Linked DNA regions of Homo sapiens: all the other regions are linked to region 3. Evidence: promoter capture Hi-C in 16 types of primary human blood cells and fetal thymus (Javierre and others, 2016). All regions are on one chromosome and are shown on one strand. Each heading gives the region's core, a stretch centred on a gene start or on the middle of the fragment in contact. The rest is flanking DNA. Distances are from core to core; before and after follow the strand shown. Region 1 overlaps KCTD17 (potassium channel tetramerization domain containing 17). Region 2 overlaps CARD10 (caspase recruitment domain family member 10). Region 3 holds the start of CYTH4 (cytohesin 4). Region 4 has its middle 19 kb from the start of ELFN2.

The links. Contacts are between HindIII fragments. The CHiCAGO score rates a contact against its expected background, and 5 or more counts as called.
Region 1: a fragment that was not itself captured here is called in contact with the fragment with the promoter of CYTH4 in region 3 in 1 of 17 cell types (activated CD4 T cells); the score reaches 5.2 in activated CD4 T cells.
Region 2: a contact is called between a fragment that was not itself captured here and the fragment with the promoter of CYTH4 in region 3, in 5 of 17 cell types (non-activated CD4 T cells, naive CD4 T cells, total CD8 T cells and 2 more). The highest score is 8.0, in non-activated CD4 T cells.
Region 4: a contact is called between a fragment that was not itself captured here and the fragment with the promoter of CYTH4 in region 3, in 2 of 17 cell types (non-activated CD4 T cells and naive CD4 T cells). The highest score is 5.7, in non-activated CD4 T cells.

Annotation. Positions count from the first base shown.
Region 1 is chr22:37,052,500-37,057,944 of GRCh38, reverse strand. It overlaps KCTD17 (potassium channel tetramerization domain containing 17), which reads right to left. Exons shown (of 9, transcript NM_001282684.2): 2 at 4,737-4,845; 3 at 1,534-1,625; 4 at 452-547. It also overlaps the pseudogene RN7SKP214. Among named protein-coding and RNA genes, the nearest start is that of KCTD17, 3.5 kb to the right of the region's middle. RefSeq lists enhancers at 4,601-5,317, 5,318-5,445. The HindIII fragment of the contact is 5,049 bases long and covers 1-4,542 here.
Region 2 is chr22:37,501,457-37,507,114 of GRCh38, reverse strand. CARD10 (caspase recruitment domain family member 10) reads left to right here. Exons shown (of 20, transcript NM_014550.4): 7 at 732-923; 8 at 2,346-2,480; 9 at 2,814-2,929; 10 at 3,902-3,930; 11 at 4,390-4,513. Among named protein-coding and RNA genes, the nearest start is that of CARD10, 15 kb to the left of the region's middle. RefSeq lists enhancers at 3,856-4,453, 4,454-5,053. The HindIII fragment of the contact is 2,177 bases long and covers 1,042-3,218 here.
Region 3 is chr22:37,277,994-37,283,834 of GRCh38, reverse strand. It overlaps CYTH4 (cytohesin 4), which reads right to left and starts at 1,327. Exons shown (of 13, transcript NM_013385.5): 1 at 1,247-1,327. The coding sequence starts at 1,265. RefSeq lists an enhancer at 1,519-1,568. The HindIII fragment of the contact is 11,420 bases long and covers 1-2,250 here.
Region 4 is chr22:37,443,379-37,448,580 of GRCh38, reverse strand. No RefSeq gene overlaps it. Among named protein-coding and RNA genes, the nearest start is that of ELFN2, 19 kb to the right of the region's middle. The HindIII fragment of the contact is 4,099 bases long and covers 1-3,332 here.

The sequences.
Region 1 (5,445 bases), core at 769-3,268, 230 kb after region 3:
GGCATGTCCCCTGCGGAGACCCTGAAAACTGTGTCAGGAACTGCTATGATCGCATGATGCTGACTCTGAGTTCTAAGAGGTACTGACTCAATGTGGACTCCACTCACCTATGTGGATCTGGTCTCCTTGCACCTGAGCTGTCCTTCGGGGGCCACAGACTCACTCATGCCACCAGATAGATCACCACCCAGTTGCTGTGAGGACTCCCACCAACAAGGACACCCCGTGCTGTCCTATGGCCACTGGGGCTCCTATCCTCTCTCTCGGTCAACCTGCCACCAAGTGTGGTCTCTCCTAACCTTGTTTAATTTGATTTCAGAAGAACCCTGGGGTTGGGGGAGACTGTGGTGGGGAACCCAAGGCTGGGGCTGCAGGAAGGGAGGGGCCTGCTTGGTCAGAGGCTAGGAGGTCCCAGGGTTGTCCTGGTGGCACGCCCCTGTCCCCAGCGCACCTGCTCGAAGCGCCAGCCATCAGACATGGTGGAGACCATTTGCGTGAGCTCCTCCTCCTGGCACTGCAGCACGCGGTACACGTGCTTGGGTGGGACCTGTGGGCAGAAGGGTCACATAGAGGGCACCTGTGGGAGCACCAGGCACCCCAGGAGGGGCATGAGCACCTGCTGCCACCACCCCCGCAACATACCCAAAGAAGAAGAGAGGGAGAGAAAGAAGAGGTGGTTGGGGGGAGGCAGCCATGCTCTGAGCACCTGCTCCTCACCAGGCATTTACCAGGCACCATCTCACTTAATCCTTCCAAGAATCCTAGGCATTACGGGACTTTCCATTGAGGCTCAGAGAGGTCCAGTTACTTGCCCAAGGTCACCCAGCTCAAGGGTGAAGGAGACAGAACCGGAACACGGGTAATTCAAGAAAGAACATGGGTGGGGCTTAGGGAACATTCTGGGTCACCCTCAAGGAGTCAGGCCCTCAAGGAGACACGGAGCCTCCCCTCTTTAATCCCCTGGGCCTGAGAAATGGTTCCTCACTACCTGTCCCCCAACCCTCACACATCCCCCAGAGTAGGCGGAAAATCTCTTTCCCTCCTCCTGCAGACTGGCCAGGGAGGCCCAGGCTCCAAGGTCACAAACGCCAGCCCCAACAGCCTGTGCCGAGCCCACCAGGCGACCATCTGATGCCACAAAAGGCACAATTTGCTAATCCTGCATTTTCCTCTGCAGGGCACCCTGTACCTCCACACTGACCCCCTTCTGCCTATGAGGAAGGGATGGGTGTGCCATTCCCACCCCTCTCTATCCCATAAGAGAAAATCAAGGTCCGGAGAGGGCGAGCCTGGCCCAACACACAGCAAATGGGGCTGAGACAGGGACTGAACCCCAGTGTCCGTCTCCGAGTCTGGGGCTGTGCTGGGCAGCCTGTCAGCCCAACCATGCCTCTCCTTACAGGCCAGCTCGGCCTCCCCATGACAAACACTGGTCCTGTCTCTCCCAACCTCCTCTGCTTCCCGCCCCGTCTCTCAGCCTCTCTCTCCCCACTGGCCCCTGCCCTGGCCGTGTGTGCTGCCCCTGCTCCCGACCTGGGTGACCGTGTAGTCCTTCTCTTCCATCCGGTCTTTGATGATGCGGATCAGCGGGCCGATGTTGTAGAACTCGGCTTCCTCCAGGACCCCTGGCACAGACAGAACAGATCCCAGGTCACTCCTTCTGCCTCCATGCCCCATTCTCCTCTTGTTCCCTCCACCCCGAAACCCACCTCTCGCTCTGATCACCCGCCCTGAGGGTGAGCTGAGTGTCTGTGAGTTCAGGGGTCAAGTAAGAGGGAGCATTTCTTTCCTTGGATCCCACACTTCCTGTGGAAGGGGCTGAGGGGCTGCCACACAGCTCTGCTGTGCTGAGTGCGGTGACCCAGGGGTACCTGCCAGGCCACCGTCTGGGGCAGCTTTAGGGCTATCAAGAGACAGCAGGGTCATTGGGACTGATCCCCAGAATGTCACCATGAGCAGGGCCTTGCCTGACCCCTGATTATGTGCTCCTATTTATTAAGCACATTCTAAGTGCCAGGTGCATTACATTTTTGAATTCTCAGAACTAGAAGGAGGTACTTTCATCATCTGCATTGAACAACTGGGAAAACTGAGGCTCCCAAAGAGAAGCAGCTTGTCCAAGGTCACACAGCTGGTAAGTGCCAGAGGGAACTCAAGCGCTGCAGACTCCAGAGCCCATGTCTCCCCACTGTAAGCACATACCCTTGTGTCCATGCATTCCCCCAACTGCCTCACCTTACAGTTTGCAACACCCTGCACGAGCTCATCACAAGTCCAGGGATATGAGGAGAGCAGGCATTACTGTCCCCATCTTACAGTTAAGTTAATCTGGGAGATGAAGAAGTCAGCCCACCAGTGAAGCGATGAGCTTGCAGCTGTTTCGACTCCCCTAGGCTCCCAGAAGGCAGGGGACCTTTGGGCCCTTTCCTTGACTGGCCTCTGGGCTCCCTGGGGACAGAGCTCATTATGAGCAGAATGTGTGTGTTCCCCAAAAATCCACCTGCTGAAAACTGTGATGGGATTAGGAGGGGAGGTAATGAGATCATGGGGGTAGAGTCCCCAGGGTAGGATCAGTCTTCTTATAAGAAAGGCTAATTGGATGTGAGGGCGATCTGGCGGGGACATCTGTCACTCCACTGATCACCAGGGTTGATTTAGCTGATCTGGCTGGCTAGATGTGTGTCCCCTTCCTCCCTCACTGCTCCAGGTGTGTCCCTCCCGAAGCTGTGAGCTCCATCGAAGGGGGCGACCACCCCCGATAGAGGAGGACCGGACTTTGGTCAAGGGTATGTGAGTAGCTGCGCTCCCCTGCTAGAACCTCCAAACAAGCTCTCGAGAAGGGGCGGGCGAGGGCTAGCTCCCTCTCTTTCTGCCATGTGAGGACACAACGAGAAGTCAGCAGTCTGCAATCCGGAAGAAAGTCCTCACCAGAACCTGCCACAGTGCCCCGATCTCGGGTTTCTAGCCTCTAGGACCAAGAGAAATAAATTTCTGATTTTCATAAGCCACCCAATCTATGTTACTTCATGATTGCAGCCTGAAATGGCTAAGATGGGGCTCACATTTCTGATCTGCCCTCTGTCCCCGGTGCCCACACAGGACCAAACACAGAGCAGGAGGTCAGGGAGTGCAGCTGCCTGATTACGAGAATTATCCCCAGTGCCCTGGGCGGAGCCCTGCAGGTGACAGACAGCTAGCACTGCATCCCACATCCTCCGGCCAGGAACTGAGCTCCATGCTGCACTATTAACTCCTTTTATCCTCATGACAGCTCGGTGAGGTGGGTGCTATGGTCCCCCATTTCACAGATGGGGGCATGCAGACACAGAGGGGTTAGGTCACTTTCTCAGTGTCACACAGCTAGTAAGTCTCCTCTCAGATCCCCTATCCCCTGGATGAGCCCTAGCCCTGTGTATCCCCTAGCCCCCGGATAGCCCTGCGTGATCCCCTAGCCCCCGGATAGCCCTGTGTGATCCCCTAGCCTCCGGATAGCCCTGTGTGATCTCCTAGCCCCCAGATAGCCCTGTGTGATCCCCTAGCCCCCAGATAACCCTGTCTGATCCTCTAGCCCCCAGACAGCGCTGTCTGACGGTGTGGGAATAGCAGGGCTTTGAGAATGCAGGGCGTGTAAACAGGTGCTGGCTGCGACGCAGCTGGGGTGTTTACTTCCCTCCCGATGGGGCCTGCTCCTGAGCCTAGGCCACGCCCATGGTATCTGTGCTCCCCTAGGGATTAACAGGCAAGCTGTGGGGCTCTGCAGGGCCAGGCACCTACAGTGGACTCTGGTGTTGTGGCCCTGACCTATTAGAGAGTTGCTGGGCCTCCAGACCACTGTGTCCCATAGGGCTCAGGGAGGGCAGACCATGGCCCAGAGCAGGAAGGCACGCACAGGTGCAGGATTTATGACATCTCCCTCCAGAAGGCAGATCACCGCCCCCATTGAATAGATACCAGTGGAGACGCAGTGAGGAGAAGTGACATATTCAAGCTGGTCTGGCTGGATCAGCTGACCCAGAGCCACACCCTGTGTCCCAAAGAAGAGTTAACTTGGCACTGACTGTAGTCCTTGCCCCTGGCTGCAGCTCTGCTAACAGGTCGTTCTCCCAGACATGGCCTCCCCACTGTTTGTTAGGCCCGGATATGGGCATATCCAGGGCCTCGGCCACCTAGGCCTGGGGATAACCAAAGCCCCACTGGGAAGCAGACTCCCCCCTCTCCTGCCTCCACCCACAGCCAGCACTGTGCCGCACAGGCTGCCAGACTTAGTGAACAGTCACCCGCTCCACCCACTTACAAGCCCTCACCAGGCAGAATTTGAGATACTGGATCAGCCAGAGAAAGAGAGACAGAGCTCTCCCCATGCCTGTCAACACTGCATTCCTGTCACCCCAGCCTCCGGATGTGACCGTCCACACCTGGCTTCCTAGGAGGCCAGAGAGAAAGGGCGTCACAGCCCACAGCAGAGGCCACAGGGCCTCGCTGACTTCCTCTATCCCCTGCACATGTGTCTCTTCACCTCCCTGACAGTACCCAGGGAAAGCTTGAGCCCGTCCGCTTGGCAGAGCCCCAGGCTCGGCACAGGCAGATGCTTGGGAATCAGCCCCGTCCGACTGGGAAGAGGCAGGAAACAACCAAGCAGGCAGATGGCCGTCCTGGTTGTCCAAATGGCTTGGGGCCTCCACAGAGGGCCCTGGCAGGCTGCATAAGGTCCAGGCCAGCCCCCTGGACCAACTCACCCTCCTCAGCCATGTCCTTGTCCAGCACCAGCTTGCCATGCCGGAGGAAGTTCAGGATGGGCCCGAAGTAGGTGGGGTCACGGTCAATGAGGTAGGCCCCGGTCTCATCCTATGGAGGTGAGGGATGCTCGGTGAGAGAAGAGTGAGGCTTCTCCCCAGCCAACCCCGCACACGCACAGGGAGGGAAGGAGAGTGGAGGGAGAGCTCTTCCCTGGATGGAGCAGGCACAAAGTAGCAAAAAGGCACTGGGGTCAGATGGACCTGAGTTCAAGCCCTGCTTCTGACTCTTCCTGAATGTGTGACCTTAGGCTAATGATTTGGCCTCTTTGAAACTCACTCCTCTCCCCCTAATCAGGGTTTGCTGTGAGCATCCGGTGAGAGGATGTCTGAGTGGCAACTGGCCCAGCACAGGGCTCGAAGAATGTCCCTCTGAGAGGCTGTCCCCTGAAGCCAGCCCCACTGTCGCCCCCAGGTCCCTAGGCTTTCAGGGGATGTTTACAAGTTTCCAAAGGAGTCACTATCTCACTGGACACTCGGGCGGGCAGGGAGGCAGGGTGGGCTTCCATGCGACTCTACAGAGAGATCGGAGACATTGAGAGGTGAGGCGACTTGCCAAAGGCCACAGCATCGGAGGGTCACGGATGGGGGACAGGAGACCTTAGAGGTCATCTTCAGACCAGCCCTTCGTGTTACAGATGAGGAAGGAGGC
Region 2 (5,658 bases), core at 881-3,380, 220 kb before region 3:
TAGAGACAGGGTTTCACTATATTGACCAGGCTGGTCTTGAACTCCTGGGCTCAACTGATCCACCTGCCTCAGCCTCCCAAAGTGCTGGGATCAAAGGCATGAGCTCCCATGCCCAGCCGAAGTCTGCATATTAGAAATGCCCTCAGAATCCCCTGGCAAGCTTGAAAGTGCAAATTTGGGGCTTCATTCTCTGGACGTTCTGATTCAGGTGGTCTGGGGTGGGCCCCAGGAATCTGCATTTTATGGGGCTGCCCCCGGCTCTCTCTGAGGCATGGGTGACAGGTCTGGACCATGGGCCCAGCTCTGGAGCCCCTGGTCTTCACTGTGGATGCAGTGGGCTGGGTTTGACTCCTGGCTTCTCCACTGACTGGGATGCTGGGAGTGAAGCCCCTGGCACACAGCAGGTCTCGTGGAAAAGTTTTCAGTTCTTGGTGAAATGGTGAGAGCCTGGATTCTGCAGATGGACTGCCCGATTTGAATCCCAGCTCTGTCGCTCCTGGCTTGGTTTCCCCAGTCTGCAGAATGAGAATAATGATATTAATAGTATCTAACTTAGCCAGTTAGTGTGAAGATATTTAAATGAGCTGATAATTTAGCTCAGGGCCCGGCACACAGTGCTCAGTAAGTGATAGCTGCCATTCTCCTTACTGTCCCCATTCTCCAAGTCATAGGCCAGGAAAGCTGGGCCAAGGTGGCTCCTTCAGCTGCTGCCTCCCCTCCCCCAACCCTAGGCCATCCAGAGCCGTGACCGGATCCAGTTGCAGTACTCACAGAGCCTCATCGAGAAGGACCAGTACCGCAAGCAGGTGCGGGGCCTGGAGGCGGAGCGGGATGAGCTGCTGACAACGCTCACCAGCCTGGAGGGCACCAAGGCTCTGCTGGAGGTTCAGCTGCAGCGGGCCCAGGGTGGCACCTGCCTCAAGGTGAGCGGGTCAAGATTGTGGAGGTCCTGGCAGGAAGGCTGGGGTCCTGGCAGGAGCTCTTGGCCAGGGCTGGGAACGTGCCGGCCCTGGTGGGAGACCTCAGCCAGGGGAGGAAGCTTGGGGGAAGTGGGAAGAGTCCTCAGTTAGGGGCGGGAACTTGAACCCAGGCTGGGCTGGGTGTGGGCTGGTGAGCAGGCGGAGGGGCATGTTGGTCTCTGAGTTTCTGGGGTTGCTTCTGGGACACTAAGAATAGTTTGGAGCTGGTCTTTGCATTTAACTGGGGAAGGCTGGCTGCCTGAGTGCCTGTGTGCATGTTAGAATGCAAAACCTGGGCCTCAGAGACCAGCTAGTCAGGACTAACATGGGCCTAAGCATCCCTCAGAGACCAGCTGGTCTAATCCTCTCATCGCACAGGGCCCAGAGAGGGTGAGGGGCTTGCCCAAGGCCACACAGCCAGCTAGCACTGGAGCTGGAGTCCCAGACCCACTGTAAATTGGATCGTGGTCCTCAGGCTGCTGCCGGGAGCTCTGCTTTTTCCTTTTTTTTTTTTTTTTGAGACAGAATCTTGCTGTATCACCCAGGCTGGATCCCAGGTTCAAGTTATTCTCGTGCCTTAGCCTCCCTAGTAGCTGGGACTACAGGTGCCTGCCACCATACCCAGCTAAGTTTTTTTTTGTATTTTCAGTAGGGATGGGGGTTTCACCATGTTGGCCAGGCTGGTTTCAAACTCCTGACCTCAAGGGATCCTCCTGCCTCAGCCTCCCAAAGTGCTGGGATTAGAGGTGCGAACGCCCAGCCTGCGTTTTCTTATTTTGAGTTGCCTGACAGTGAGCTCCGCAGGCCTGGTGTTTGAAGCACTGGGGCCTGGAGGAATATAGGAAAAGTCAGCATTAATCCAAGACTTTTTTTTTTTTTTAACCCCCAGTGGCTTTTTTGCTGTTTGGTAAAGACAGAGTCCCTTTTCATGGCCAAGAGGCCCTGCGGGTGGGGTTCCTCTTGTCCTCTCGCCTGGTTCTGTGGGTTCCAGTCTTTCAACTGGAATGCATCACAGTCCTGCCTCAGGGCCTTTGCACATGCTGTTGATCTGCCTGGACCATCCCAGCTTGACCTACTTAGCGCCTCTATACCCTTGAGTTCTCAGTTCAAACCACAGTTTCTTTGGAGAGTACTTGGACTCCCAGGCTGGGTGGGGTCTTTGTGTGTTTTCCATGCCCTGGGCACCTTCCTTCTGCTATTGTCTCAGCTTGGGGCTATTTTGTTCACATGTCTGCTGGTTTACAGTTTATCTCCCATTCTAGGCTGTGAGCTCCCTGAGGACAGGGATCTGTCCCTGTGCTGGCACATGGCAGGTGCTCAGTAAAGGACTGTGGTTGACGTGGGCCTAGCACTGCTCACCTCCTTCCTCTCCTCTCCCTCTTCCAGGCCTGTGCCTCCTCCCATTCCCTGTGCTCCAACCTCAGCAGCACTTGGAGCCTGAGCGAGTTCCCCTCCCCTCTGGGAGGCCCAGAAGCAACTGGGGAGGCAGCTGTCATGGGGGGACCTGAGCCTCACAACTCGGTAAGACAACTGCCCCATCCCAAATAAGGGGGGACACTGCTATAGCATTATTACTAATGTGGAGAGTGCTTTCTGAAGGATCCATTTCACAGGTGAGGACACTGAGGCGCAGGGAGGCCAAGTACTTTACTGAAGCTCACCCAGAACCATTTCCTTGCCAGGCATAGGTGCCAGGAGGCGTGGGGAGCCACCCGCACACTATAATCTTGCAGAGCCCGCTCTTCTGCTCTGGGCCCTACTTCTCATTTGTGGAATGGGCACAAACCAGGTGTGCTGAGGACTGGGATGGTGCTGGGCAGTGGGGGTGACCCAGGCCCTGTCATGGCATTGCAGGAGGAAGCCACAGACAGTGAAAAGGAGATCAATCGGCTCTCCATCCTGCCCTTCCCCCCCAGTGCCGGCTCCATCCTCCGCCGGCAGCGTGAGGAAGACCCCGCACCCCCTAAGAGGTGAGATGGCTGGGGATAGCAGTAGACACCCAGGGAGGTGGGGCTGCCGTTTCCCGAACAGCCACCTCCCAGAATCTGCAATGCCAAAGTCAGGTCCAGGCAGTCACTTCCCTTTATTGCCCTCAGATGGCTGGAGCTCTGGAAACCCAGGTCCTGTGAGTCACAGGGGCGACCAAGGTCAGGCTTAAGATAAGGCCGATGGGCAGAGCGAACTCAGTCCTAGCCAAGCATCCTGGCAGGAGGGTCACTGGGGGTCAAGCCTTGAAGATCCTATACCCAAGGAGAAGCTTGATGGTTCAGGACTAGGGGGCGTGGAGAATGTTTCAAGGTATCAGGGACCTCCGGCAAGAAAGCCAGGCCCCAGGTTTGGGCATCAGCAGCAAATAGGGACCAGAAAAACCAAGGCGCACCCTCTGGTGGCAAGACCAAGGGCGGGAGATAGCCTGCCTCCTGGGGCGCGATCCTTGTCACTGCTTTTCCCCTGTAAGCAGCCCTTGATTTATTCCTTTACTGGTGAGAGGCTGGGCCCTGGGAGGCTGTGGTCAGTATGGCCTTGATCTGCGTAAATCTGTCCCAAGGAGGTGTCTGATGAGGAGGTCATGGTTTAATTTAGGAGGCGTACCTGGGAGTCACAAACCACAAAGGTGGCAAGTGAGGGTGAGGTGAGGGGTGAGAGATCAGGGGTGGCTTCCAGGAGGAGGTGGCATTGAAAGAGCTGGCTTTGAAGGGCATGCCAGGGCATTGTAGGTGGAACAACATTGGACAGAGGCCAGGACATTAACTTCTTACCCTGGGAGTTTAGGGGAGCCAGGTGGCATGGGTGCCCTGTACCTGGGACCCTGCCTTGAGTCTAGCCTGCATTTGCTTGGGGGCTGTGAGACATTTATCTGGTGTGGGGGCAGGAGGAGGGAGCGGGGCAGAGTGCCCACTGTGCCTCACCTCCTGCCCCCTCCCTGCCCTCTCTCTGCCCAGATCCTTCAGCAGCATGTCAGACATCACAGGTAACAGCCCTTGAGTTCCGTGGGGAGGGCTCCTCTGGTCGGGGGAGGTGGCTTTGCAGCCCACCTGAAGCCTGCACCACCTGCGCTACCTTTGGCCTGCATCCCCTTCCCTGAAGCCCCGCCGTGGCCCCTGCCAGGCAGGAAGGTTGTGCTTGGGAGGACCCTGGGGACTTTGGTTCCAGCCTCTCACCCCGAGCCCAGTCCTGGGCCTCACTCCTGTTCCCGGCTGTGATGTACGAGGCTCTTCAGTTCTGGGCCACCTTTCACCCTCTTCTGGGAAACTGCGGGGTCAGCCTGGTGGGCCCTGACCTATCTCTGAGCCCAGTGGGTCTGATGTGCTCCTGGGGCCTCAAACCTGCCAAGGCCTCTCTGGGCTGGAGGGGGGTCAGTCCCTGTCATGGACCCTGGCCATCCCTGTTTCCCAGTGCCAGATCCCTGAACCTCATTCTTTTTCCCCAGGGAGTGTGACACTTAAGCCCTGGTCCCCTGGCCTCTCTTCGTCCTCATCCTCTGACAGCGTGTGGCCTTTGGGAAAGCCGGAAGGCCTCCTGGCTCGGGGCTGTGGCCTGGACTTCCTCAACAGGTACTGTAGCTGCCTGCAGTGGGTGGAGCTGGGGTGATTGCTTGAGAGGGGAACAGGAGTGAGGTGGGAGGAGCAATTGCCTCGCCCCTGTTTTATGCAACTATTGGAAGATTAAGATCTGTAGACACTGGCAGCCCTTGGATTCCAATCCTGCTGCCGCTCTTGATCGTCCCTGTGACTTGGGCTGGTCCCTTCACTTCTCTGGGCCTCCATTTCCTCAGTAGCTAAAGGGAGATGATGACCCTTTTTGCATGGAGGTCTTTTGAGGGCTCTGCTCGCAGAAGCAAAGCACCCAGCTCTGCCAGGCATGTAGCAGGTGCTTAGTAATAGTTGTCACTTACAAGCTGTCCTCGTCCCAATGTCCTGCCTGTCAGTCCCTTGGCTCTGAGTCCCTGGGACTGAGCCACCCAGCAAAGTTTCATGCTGTGGGTGGGCTTGGGTCACCTCAGGAGCCCCTGTGACCGGGCCAGCCACAGGTCCATAACAGGAGTCACAAAGCCCATTAGTGCAGAGTGCACTGTAGGCGACGTGCTGTTAGTGTGGCCGGTGCGTGGCCGCTGTTCACACCTGCCAGTGTATCTAAGGGAGGGGTGGGGCAGAGCGGGGGCTGCACGGCCATTGTGGTCTTGGAACTCAGCTGTGAGGAGAGGGCAGGTAGGGAGAGCATCCGGTGACTGTGGAGGAGGAGCGAGGGGGAAGGGCGAAAGTCAAGGCTTCCTGAGTCAGGCTGGGAAAGTGTGGACTTTGGCTTGTACACTCTGGGAAATGTGGGAGGGTTTAGTTATTAACTGCAAGGCCAGCTGCTGGCTGTTTTACAACATGCTCTTTGTCCAGGGAGTAGGCATAATGACGATTATCTCTGCTCCATAGAGGAGGTAACTGGGGCTCAGAGAGGTTAAGCAACTTGCCCAGGGTCCCACAGTTGGGAAGTACCAGGTCTGGGTTCATAGTGACCTGATCAGATTTGGGTTTTGGAAAGGGCATAGGAAACATGGACTGTCAGCGCTGGAATGTGGAGGTGTTGGGTGCAGAGGGATGGGTCACGCAGCAGATGGGTACAGCATAGGACCAGGGCCTCTGGCCTCCGGAGCGGCTTGGTCAGCCAGTGTCCAGGCCCTGCCCCCACCTGGCCCCCGGCAGTGGGC
Region 3 (5,841 bases), core at 78-2,577:
TTCGCTGGGTCTCCCTGTGCCAACCAGGTGCCCCCAAGCTGTGCTCACTGAGCTGTGATTTTGGGAGCCCCCAAAGCCCATGGGAGAGGCAGGGGTCAGAGTGAGCCCTGGATAGGGATTCAGGGAACAGGATTTGGTCCTGCTCCTGCCTTAGAGAGGCTGTTTTCCTCCCTTGGCCTCTTTTCTCCCTTCTGCCACTGGGGGGGCTGTTGAAATGGATCAGTGGTTCTCTGGGTTCCCTGGGGCCCGAGGCTTCCATCTGGGGGTGGGGAGGAAGGGGGATGCCCAGTGGGCGGGGCCAGGCTGCTCCACATTAGGTGCGTTTGAAGCAAGGGTGCTCCTGGACAAGGCTGAGGTCATCTGGACCTGGGGAGCAGACAGCTCCCACGAGCCCTTAGGTTCTGGAATTCCAGCAGCCGTGTTCACCAGAACTGTTGCAGCTCTGGAGCATGCTGACATCCAGGGTGCAGAAACTTGGCCCCTCTACCGGGCCTTCAATTTGCCTCCCAAAACACGACCCTGATGTTCTTTTCCTCACCATCTTTGCAGCCTCCTTTCTCCTCTTTCTCCCCAGACACATTGTCTTAGTAGCTGGGGAGGGTTTCAACCAGAGCCTCTGTTGCTCACTCCTGGCCCTCCCCTGGCTCTAGGCAGCGTCCTCAGCCTCCCCAAAGACCACCCCAACCCCCGGGGGCCAAAAAGGGGCCTCAAGGCCCTTGTATCACCCAGACAAGCATCGCCATCACCAACATCCCATCATCATCTTAATCGCAAGTCACTTTTCTGAGTCCACCTCTGAGCCTTTGGACTGGCTGTTCCTTCTGGCTGGAATGTTTGTTCCTTAGAAAGCCCCTTAGCTGACATCTTCCTCAGGTCCCTCATCAGACAGCATCTCCTCTTGGGGCCTTTTCCACCATGCATTCCTGTCTTCCTTACCCTGCTTTACTGTTCTTCATCCTACCTGCCATCAACTGACATATGGAATCACATTAGAGTCACTGCCGGTCTCCTCATCTAGAGCACAAGCCTATGAAGGGGGAAACAGCGTCTGCTTTGCTACTGCTGTGTGTCCAGCCCCTAGAACGCAACTGGACACACAGGCTGAGCCCACAAATGTTTGCTTCTTGCAGCTGCATTTCCCACCTGCGCTGTATTCCTTTATCTAGGACCCTGTGAGGCAGGGGCTGCTGTCCCATTCTAAAAGAGAGCACCCTGAGGCCCAGAGAGGTTGACGGCAGTTGCTTACCTGGGTGGCACAGGTCCATTCCGACGCCTCTGGGGAAAAGATGACCCGTGCTCCTGTCGCTTGCCGACCCAGCTGCTGTTCGGGCTGGCCCGGCAAGGATGCGTCACCTTGACTGTAACAGGCTCCTTCCTGCTTGCCCCGCCCAGCCCTGTGTGGGGAGGAAGTCAGTCCTGGCCCACGGGGGTCTCGTGTGCAGGCTTTTGACAAAACAGCACTTCCTAAAAACTGGCAGAGTTTTGAGCAGCAGGGACTTTTGCCAGGGAGGGACAGAGGTGGAAACAAACAAACAAACAAACAAACAAACAGATGAAGTGAGGGGAGGGCCAGATAAAAAAGAGAAAGACAGTGAGACAGAAAGAAACACACAGACACATATGCACATACACACGTACACATGCACAGACACCGAGGGCGATGTTCACTGAGGACGAACATTTTCCAGGGGACCATGGGCATTCACGTGGCAGCCTCCTCACATATATGCCATAGGAGCGCCCAACTTGGACAGTCCTAGCAGGGCCCCCTGTGTTCCACCCCACAAGCTCTCTTCCAACTCCCACTTGAGAAGAGACAAATGAATTCACTGCTAGGAAGGGCTTTGCTTCCCTTCAAAGAAATATCTGGCTTTTTCTTGTCTAGTGAACAATCGGGTAATATGTTCCACTTTCCTTCTCCCCCAGGCTGCTGGGAAACTCATCGTCAAATCCAAAGCTCATCGACAGCTATTCTATGATGTCATGTGAACTTTGGGGCCTGACTCAGCTGTTTGACTCTCAGCTAGGGCTAGTCAGCCTCGCTTTGCTTATCTCTGAAAGGGGAATAACACTAACTCGGGGATATGGAAACCATGGAGTGAGAGGATGTGTCGGAGATGCTTGGGACATAGTAGGTGCTCAATAAACACTTTCTCCTTTGATTTTAATTATCTTCTTTGGTTAAAATGTATCATGTTATTCCTTGTGCCTTTTCTGGCAGGTTGGTTCAAATCCTTTCTGCAAAAAGCTTTGCTGTAAAGAAACAGGTATAAATTAAATGTGAATTCCCTATAACTTCAGGACACATGCAGAGTTATTCATCTGTTTCCCCATTACTCTCCAGGCCCCATGAGGGCAAGGTTACCTTTTGTGTTCTGGTGTGTGGTAAAATGCTGGGGACATAGAGGGTGTGCAAGTGTGGAATGAATGAACAAATGAATGAATGAATGAATGAATGAAGGGAACATGGAAGAGATCACGGCCGATGTGAAAGCTAGCTACAAGTTCACCTCCTTTTCACTATGCCGCCGCTTCTGCTGTCAAGGGGCGAAGTCCATTTCTCCTTCCTTGGAAGCTGAGCTGGCCTTGGGCATCTCTTTGACCAATAGCACGTGGCAGAAATGATGTGCCGTGATGTTCGAGGCTGAGCTTTAAAAGGCCTTGCAGCTCCTGCTCTTGCTCTCAGCCCCCTGCCTGGCTACCATGAGAACAAGCCTGGGCTAGCCTGTTGGAAGACGGAGGACCACAAGGAGATAGGCTGGGCTGTCTTGGCTGTCCCCTGGTTGCTGCCTCATCAGTGAGGCCAGGGGACACCAGAAGAAGAACCATCAAGCGGAGTCCCACCCAAACTGCTGACCCATAGCACTGTGGGAAATAATACATTTTTGTGGTTTAAGCCACCAACTTCTGGGATGCTTTGTTATGCAGCCAAAGCTTGCTGATACAGAAGAAATCCAATGCTGTCATTTCCTCGGAGAGAAAACTGAGGCTTATTTCTGGGAAACACTTGACCAAGTTGGAACTTGAGTGAGTGCCAATTCAGGCCCAGAAGCCAGGCCTACTAAGTCCCCGTCTAGTGTGCTCAGGATTTTTGAACCCCGCTGCTTCTCCCCTGCCCTGCCTCCACCTGGGTTCTTGTATAACTCATGGTTCTTTTCTGGAAAACTTGTTACAATTATTTCCATGGTAAACTAGATTTTTCTCAACTGCTTTGGGCCTGAGGCACCACAAACCATGCCCTTGGCCATTTTAAAACTAGAAATGTGGGCTGGGCATAGTGGCTCATGCCTGTAATCCCAGCACTTTGGGAGGCCGAGGCGGGTGGATCACAAGGTCAGGAGATCAAGACCATCCTGGCCAACGTGGTGAAACCCCGTCTATACTAAAAATACAAAAATTAGCTGGGCATGGTGGCGGGTGCCTATAATGCCAGCTACTTGGGAGGCTGAAGCGGGAGAATCACTTGAACCAGAGAGTCGGAGGTTGCAGTGAGCTGAGATCGCGCCACTGCACTCCAGCCTGGCAACAGAGTGAGACTCCGTCTCCAAAAACAAAACAAAAGAAAAAACAAAACAAACAAAATAACCCCTAGAAATATGGAGAAAGGTATATATAATTCCCTGTGCAGAAAGACTTCACACTGCAGGCCGGAGACTGCTATCTTTAGAAAGTCATGCTTGCAAAGTTGACCCTTGGCTGGCACCTGGGAGCTTGGATTTGGGGAGGGCTCCCACCACCCTAACTGATGAGAGTGGCTTACTGGGCCTAACCTATTTGCCTAGCGTCCCTGGCAGCATCCCATCTCACAGGTGCTTTCACGACTTGTTGCTGGAGGAATTGAGCGTGTCCCGTGTGACTCTTTTGGGAGCAGACTCTTGGAAGCTGCCCCTGGTTTCCTCTGGACTTCGCCACGGCGCCTTTGCGGATTCTGCTTTGAGTCCTTTCACTGCCATAGATCATAGCCGTAAGTATGACCATGAGCTGAGTCCTGGGAGTCCACCTAGTAAACCACTGAACCTGGGATGGCCTTGGGGAAGGCTGCCTGATCTTGCGGCTGATCCAGTAAATGTGTCTTGACCAGGCCACGGTTTGGCATCTGACACTTCCCTTTTGTCTGATGGATGGTCACGGTTGTGTGGTTCAGCTATTGTTACTGTCTTATTCTCTAAGACATACCTCAAATACCACCTCCTCTGTGAGGTCCGTTGTGATGACACCTCCCCTCCCTCTTTCCCACAACGCTGGTCATGTTTAACGGCTTATATGCAGACAGCCTGGGAGGGAGGGACTCTTTCACTGTGAGCAGCAAAGAGTTTAGCAGAACTGACTTCATCATTTTCTCCGTCACTCCTTGTCCAGGTTTGGCTGCAAGATTTGCTGGGAACCAATAGCACAGGCAATGAGGAGAGCAGGAAGCTGGACCCAGGGGAGTCACAGAGAACTGGATTTGAATCCTGACTCAGCTCTTGTGAGCTGTGTGATCTTCTTCCTTCCCCTCCGAGCCTCATTTTTAATCATTTAAAATCATCTACAAAATGGAGACAGTTCAGGTTAGGTTTGCCTACATGAAACAGAAAACCCAAATAATAATAATGGTTTAAAGAAACTAGAGGTTTATTGATCTCTTACAAGAAAGAAACCTGAAGTGGGCAACACATGGCTGCCCTGTAGCAGCCTGGGCATGGATCCAGGATCCTTCTAACTTTCGGCTGCTGTCCTCAAATTCTCTTCATGGTCCAAAGTGGCTGCTTGATCTCCAGCTATCATGTCTAAATTCCAGGTAGGAGGAAGGATGAAAACGGGAAGGAATCCCCTTAAAACTTTCTGGCCTGAGATCAGTCCTTCTGCGCTACATCAGGCTCTGGTTCCCACCTGTGTACCAGGCAGGGGATCCGCAGTTGGTTCTGGGACAACAAATGAGAGTCTCCAAACACGAGATCTGGGAGGTCCTAAAAAAACCATCACTGCTATTTCTGGAGTGCCTGCTATGGAGTGCCAGACACTGTGCTAAGTGCTTGTCATCTCATTTAACCCTTTCCACCATTCAACAAATTACATTATTACAACCCCTCTTTCATAGATGAGGGAACTGAGTTCAGAGAGGTTAAATCACTTGCCCAAGGTCACGCAGCCAGGAGAAAGCAAAGTTCAGATTCAAGCCCTGAACTGTCTGACTTCAGATCCCCACACTCAGCTTGTACAAGCGTCACTTTAAACATTTCAGAAGTTCACCGACCTGCCCTCCCCACTCCCTGCACTTCCTTTGAGGGAGAGATAGGAAGGGTCTAGCATCTGAATCAAATAATAGCAAAACCATCTGGGTAACATCTTCTGTTTGTCCAAAAGCTCAGAATTCCTCACGTGATGCCAATGGCCCAAGGGCGAGAGAGATGGAAGAAGCTTAGAGGAGGTCTGATTCCATGGCCTCATCTTACAGATGGGAAACGGAGGCTGGGAGAGGGAAGGGACTTAACAGAGTGAGTTAGAAGCAGAATCTGCCCTTAAGCCCATTTTGGCTGCACAGTCAGAGTGCCCATCCATCCATCCATCCATCCATCCATCCATTCATTTATTTATTCCTTTGATGTTTATTGAAGGCCTGCTATGAGCCGTGCACTGTTCCTGGCATTGGCACAGACAAACGTCCTGCCCTCATGGGGCACATGGTTGAGTCACTAGGCCAGATGGGAGGTGGCAGGTGGTGGGCAAGGTGTGTGTTGGGGGAGTGAATCCTCTCTGCAGTCCTTCCCCTTTCTCATTTTCTCTGATTTCTGATTTTTTCCTCAAGGATTCAGAACTGGAGACAGCGTCCTGGAGGCTCTCATAGTGGAGCATCCTGAA
Region 4 (5,202 bases), core at 34-2,533, 160 kb before region 3:
TCCCTCAGCCTCCCTGCCTGCCCTGCTCTGTGACACCAGCTGTTGTCCAGTCAGTGATGGAGAGAGTGCAGCATCGTAGGATTCTCCAGTCACTGACTTCGAGATTCTATTAGTCGGTGGCTCTGAGGTTCTTTGATGGAGAGTCTCAGATTATAAGATTCAGCCATGAGCCTCCCAGAATGTGATTTTTCAAGAGTCTATTACTCTATGTGACAAAGGGGAAAAATGTTTGTTCTTAGCAGCCCTGACTGCTCACGGGGAGTGAGAGGGCCTGGCTTTCTGTGGAGGCCGCCATGGTAGGTTGGGCATATCAGCCACTGCTTTCCGGAAGGAAGAGAAATTTGTTGCTGCAGAGGGTGGGGTGGGCACTGCAGGGATCTGGGCAGAAGGAAGGGGGACCCAGAGACAGCCTGAGGGGGCTAGATGGAGGGATATTGATGAGAGGACTTGGAAACCCCCCTGAGAGGACTTGGAAACCTCCGATTCTGTGGAATGTGTGTCAGTCCCTTCCCACGTCTCACCTTCAGGATCCTCAGAGAAGGCTTGTGCATGTAGAGAGGCAGTTTGGGGTGGCGAGTGTGGGCTCCTTCACTCCCCAGCTGTGTGATCCTGGGGAAGCTACTCAGCCTCTCTGAGCTGCGGTCACCTTACCTGTAAAGTAGCGCAGGTGGTGAGAATTCATCATCTAGGTAAAGCGCTCAGAATGAAGCCGGCATGGGGTGAACCCCGCATGCATGGTGGCTATGATTGAGTGGCAGTGGTTCTTTTGGGGAGACCTTTGGCAGGCTGCTTAGACTCGGTGAAAGTAGAGACACACAAGAGTGGGCACAGGGCAGGGCTGGGTCATTCCATCCCCATAGGCCCCGCTCCCAGCTGGCATCCCAGTGCTCAGTGGATGTTTGTTGAATGAGTGAATGGTTTTCTCTTCTCTCAGCCCTTCCTATTGACTGCACCAGCCCCAGTCAGGCAGGTAGGGGATCTGGGACTTTTGTCCTCTCTCCAGTGGGTCCCCAGGTCTTGCTCTTTCCTCCTCCATCTGTCCCCATCTCCACTTCTTCCTCTCCATTCCCACAGTCCCAGCTCCATGGCTGCAGCTGCTGGTGGTGGTGAGTTCTTGCCCCTCCCTAGCTGCCTAGCCTCTGGCAGCCTTCCTCCCAAGCAGTGTGGAGAAGACAGGGCAGGCTGAGCCCACGTACACCATGGTGGTCTGGAAGTGAATTCACAGATCCTGTCTCTCTGAACCTCAGAATGGAATGCCACAGGTCTTAATCCTAGCATGAAAAGATCTTAGAATTTCAGCCTTCAGTTGCAGAATCTTAGAATTGAAACACTCCAGAGGAGCATCGCGTAAACTTGTGACCTTTTGGACTACAGGATGGCACAGGGTGCCCGTGTGCACCACCAATTAGGTAAACTCAGATTTGTCATCATTAAAAAATCTAAATTGGGCTGGGCGCAGTGGCTCACGCCTGTAATCTCAGCGCTTTGGGAGGCCGAGACAGGCAGATCACAAGGTCAGGAGATCGAGACCATCCTGACTAACACCGTGAAACCCCATCTCTACTAAAAAATACAAAAAAATAGCCAGGCGTGGTGGCAGGCGTCTGTAGTCCCAGCTACTCGGGAGGCTAAGGCAGGAGAATGGCGTGAACCCGGGAGGTGGAGCTTGTAGTGAGCCGAGATCGTGCCAGTGCACTCCAGCCTGGGCGACAGAGTGAGATTCCGTCTCAAAAAAAAAAAAAAAAAAAAAAAAAAAACTAAATCAAATATAACATGTAAAATTAATAATAGAACGTAGATGGCGCAACTGCTGTGGAAGACAGTTTAGCAGTTCCTTAAAAAGTTAAATATAGGGCCGGGTGTGGCGGCTCATGTTTGTAATCCCAGCACTTTGGGAGTCTGAGGGGGGTGGATCACTTGCGGTCAGGAGTTCAAGACCAGCCTGGCCAACATGGCAAGACCCTGTCTCTACTAAAAATACAAAAATTAGTCAGGCGTGGTGGCGGGTGCCTGTAATCTCAGCTACTCAGGAGGCTGAGGCAGGAGAATTGCCTGAACCGGGAGGTGGAGGTTGCAGTGAGCCGAGATCGTGCCACTGCACTCCAGCCTGGGCAACAGAGTAAGACTCCATCTCAAAAAAAAAAAAAAAAGTTAAATATAGAATCATCATATGATCCTGCAGTCCCACTCCTAGACACATAAGGGACTGGGAGCAGGAACTCAAACAGATGTGTCCACCTATGTTTGTGGCAGCCTTGTTCACAATAGCCAAAGGTGGAAACAGCCCAAGTATTCATCAACACAGGGCGGACTAACAAAATGCGATGTAGACATGCAGTGGAGTATTATTCAGCCTGAAAAAGGAAAGTCTGATGCATGCTACAACATGAGTGAACCTCGAAAATATTATGCTAAGTGAAAGAAACCGGACATAAAAGGACAAATATTGACCAGGTGCAGTGGCTCATGCCTATAATCTGAGCACTTTGGGAGGCGAAGGCAGGTGGATCACTTGAGGTCAGGAGTTCGAGATCAGCCTGGCTAACATGGCGAAACCCTGTCTCTACTAAAAATACAAAAATTAGCCAGGGGTGGTGGCGGGCGCCTGTAATCCCAGCTACTTGGGAGGCTGAGGCAGGAGAATCGCTCGAACCCAAGAGGTGGAGATTGCAGTGAGCCGAGATCGCACCACTGTACTGCAGCCTGGGTGATAGAATGGGACTCCATCTCAAAAAAAAAAAAAAAAAAAGGACAAATATTGTATGACTCCATGCATATAAAGTACCTAGAATAGCGAAATTCATGGAGATAGTTGAACAGAGGTTATCAGGGGTTACCTGGGGCAGTGGGGAGGGAGAACTGGGGAATTATCGTTGAATGGGTACAGAGTTTATGTTGGGGATGATGAAAAAGGCGTGGAAATGGACTGGACAGTGGTGATGTTTGCACAATAACACGAACGTACTAAATGCCAGTGAACTGTGTATTTAAAAATGATGAAAATGGGCCGGCGCAGTGGCTCACGCCTGTAATCCCAGCAGCACTTTGGGAGGCCAAGGTGGGTGGACCACCTGAGGTCAGGAGTTCAAGACCAGCCTGAGCAACATGGTAAAACCCCGTCTCTACTAAAAATACAAAAATAAGCTGGGCTGGTGGCACACACCTGTTATCCCAGGTACGCAGGAGGCTGAGGCAGGAGAATCGCTTGAACCCGGGAGGTGGACGTTGCAGTGAGCCGAGATCGCACCATTGCACTCCAGCCTGGGTGACAGAGCGAGACTCCATCTCAAAAACAAACAAACAAAAGTTAAAAAGGTTAAAAATGGTAAGCTTTACGTTGTGTATATTTTATCACAATTTTTTTGTTTGTTTTTTATTTTGAGACAAGGTCTGGCTCTTTCGCTCAGGCTGGAGTGGAGTGGTACAATCTTGGCTCACTGCAATCTCTGCCTCCTGGGCTCAAGCCATTCTCCAACCTCAGCCTCCCAGGTAGCTGGGATTACAGGCACGTACCACCATGCCCGGCTAATTTTTTTTTTTTTTTTTTGTAGAGACGGGGTTTCACCATGTTGCCCAGGCTGGTCTTGTACTCTTGGGCTCAAGCAATCTGCCCACCTTGGCCTCCCAAAGTGCCGGGATTACAGGTGTGAGCCACCATGTTCAGCCCTTTATCACAATTTTTTAAACAAGGTTTTGTGTCACTGAGAGTGATGATTCTGTTTGCAATCCTTCTGTCTTTTTTTTTTTTTTTTTTTCTGTTCACCTTCATGCCTCCAGGCCCTGTGTTCCCAGCGCGTAGTAGGTCCTCAATCATTGTTTGCTGAGTGGACAAATGGTCCCGGCTGTCTTGATGGCAAGCTAGTTCGGCCAGCAGCTCATGTTTCCTATCTAGACAGCTTCTTTCCTTGCACTCTTCATCTCCCCAAAGCCAATAGCCCCTTGCTAGGCTGCAGGCGGTCAGAGATGGCACCCACAAGTGCCTGTTCTGGGATTTGGGGATTAGACACAGCCTCAGAAGTGACAAAAAGGTGATTTATCATGGAAGCCTCCTTCCAGTACCTGTCAGAAGAGAAGATATCCCACACAGCACACTCAAGAACTGGAAAGTTGTCCAGACAAACGGCCTAGACCCTGCTTTGGTTGTATTTAATATTTCACACTCGAGAGGATTCCTTCTTGTTTGACAGCAGTGCTTGGATGTGGTTTTTAATACGCTCATTGCCGTGTCATTGATTTCTTCCCCCGAGCAGTGGACAAAAACATCTAGTATTGGGACAGAGTCAGGCTGTCGGGGATCAAGAACTTTGCCCCACAGTTTATCAAATGTGAAAAGTGTATTTTAGCTCCAAGGTGACAGAATCAGAATATTCAAGGTGCTGACTGTGTCACTGAGTCATGTTTCTTAAAATCAAAGGAATGGTTTTCAATGGCATTATTGTGTCATACAGATACTTTTTTTTTTTTTTGAGACAGGTTTCATTCACTCTGTCGCCCAGGCTGGAGTACAGTGATGTGGTAATAGCTCACCAAAGCCTTGAACTCCTGGGTTCAAGTGATCCTCCCGCCTTGGTTTCCCAAAGTGCTAGGAATACAGGCGTGAGCCATGGTGCCTGGCAGAGCAAGATTTAAAAAATTTAAAAAAAATTTAGGTCGGGTGCAGTGGCTCATGCCTGTAATCCCAGCACTTTGGGAGGCCAAGGTGGGCGGATCACTTGAGGTCAGGAGTTCAAAACCAGCCTGGCCAATGTGGCGAAATCCTGTCTCCACTAAAAAAAACAAAAACAAAAACAAAAAACAAAAACCAACACACACACACACACACACACACACACACACACACACAAAACAAAAAACAAAAATTAGCCAGGTGTGGTGGCACATGCCTGTAATCCCAGTTACTCAGGAGGCTGAGGCACGAGAATTGCTTGAACCTAGGAGGCAGAGGTTGCAGCCAGCCGAGATTGCGCCACTGCACTCTAGCCTGGGCGACAGAGTGAGACTCTGTCTCAAAACAAAACAAAACAAATTTAAAAAATTTTTCAAAAGCAAGATTAAAAAGATTGAAAAAATCTTGCCCCTCATTTAAAAAAACTTGGCATGCACATTTATTCCACAGTGAGAGTTGCTCAGGTTGGAAAAGCAGTTTTGTTCTGCCTGTCTCTTCTGACAGCTGGCTAAAACGATGTCCACTCAGTGGCCTGG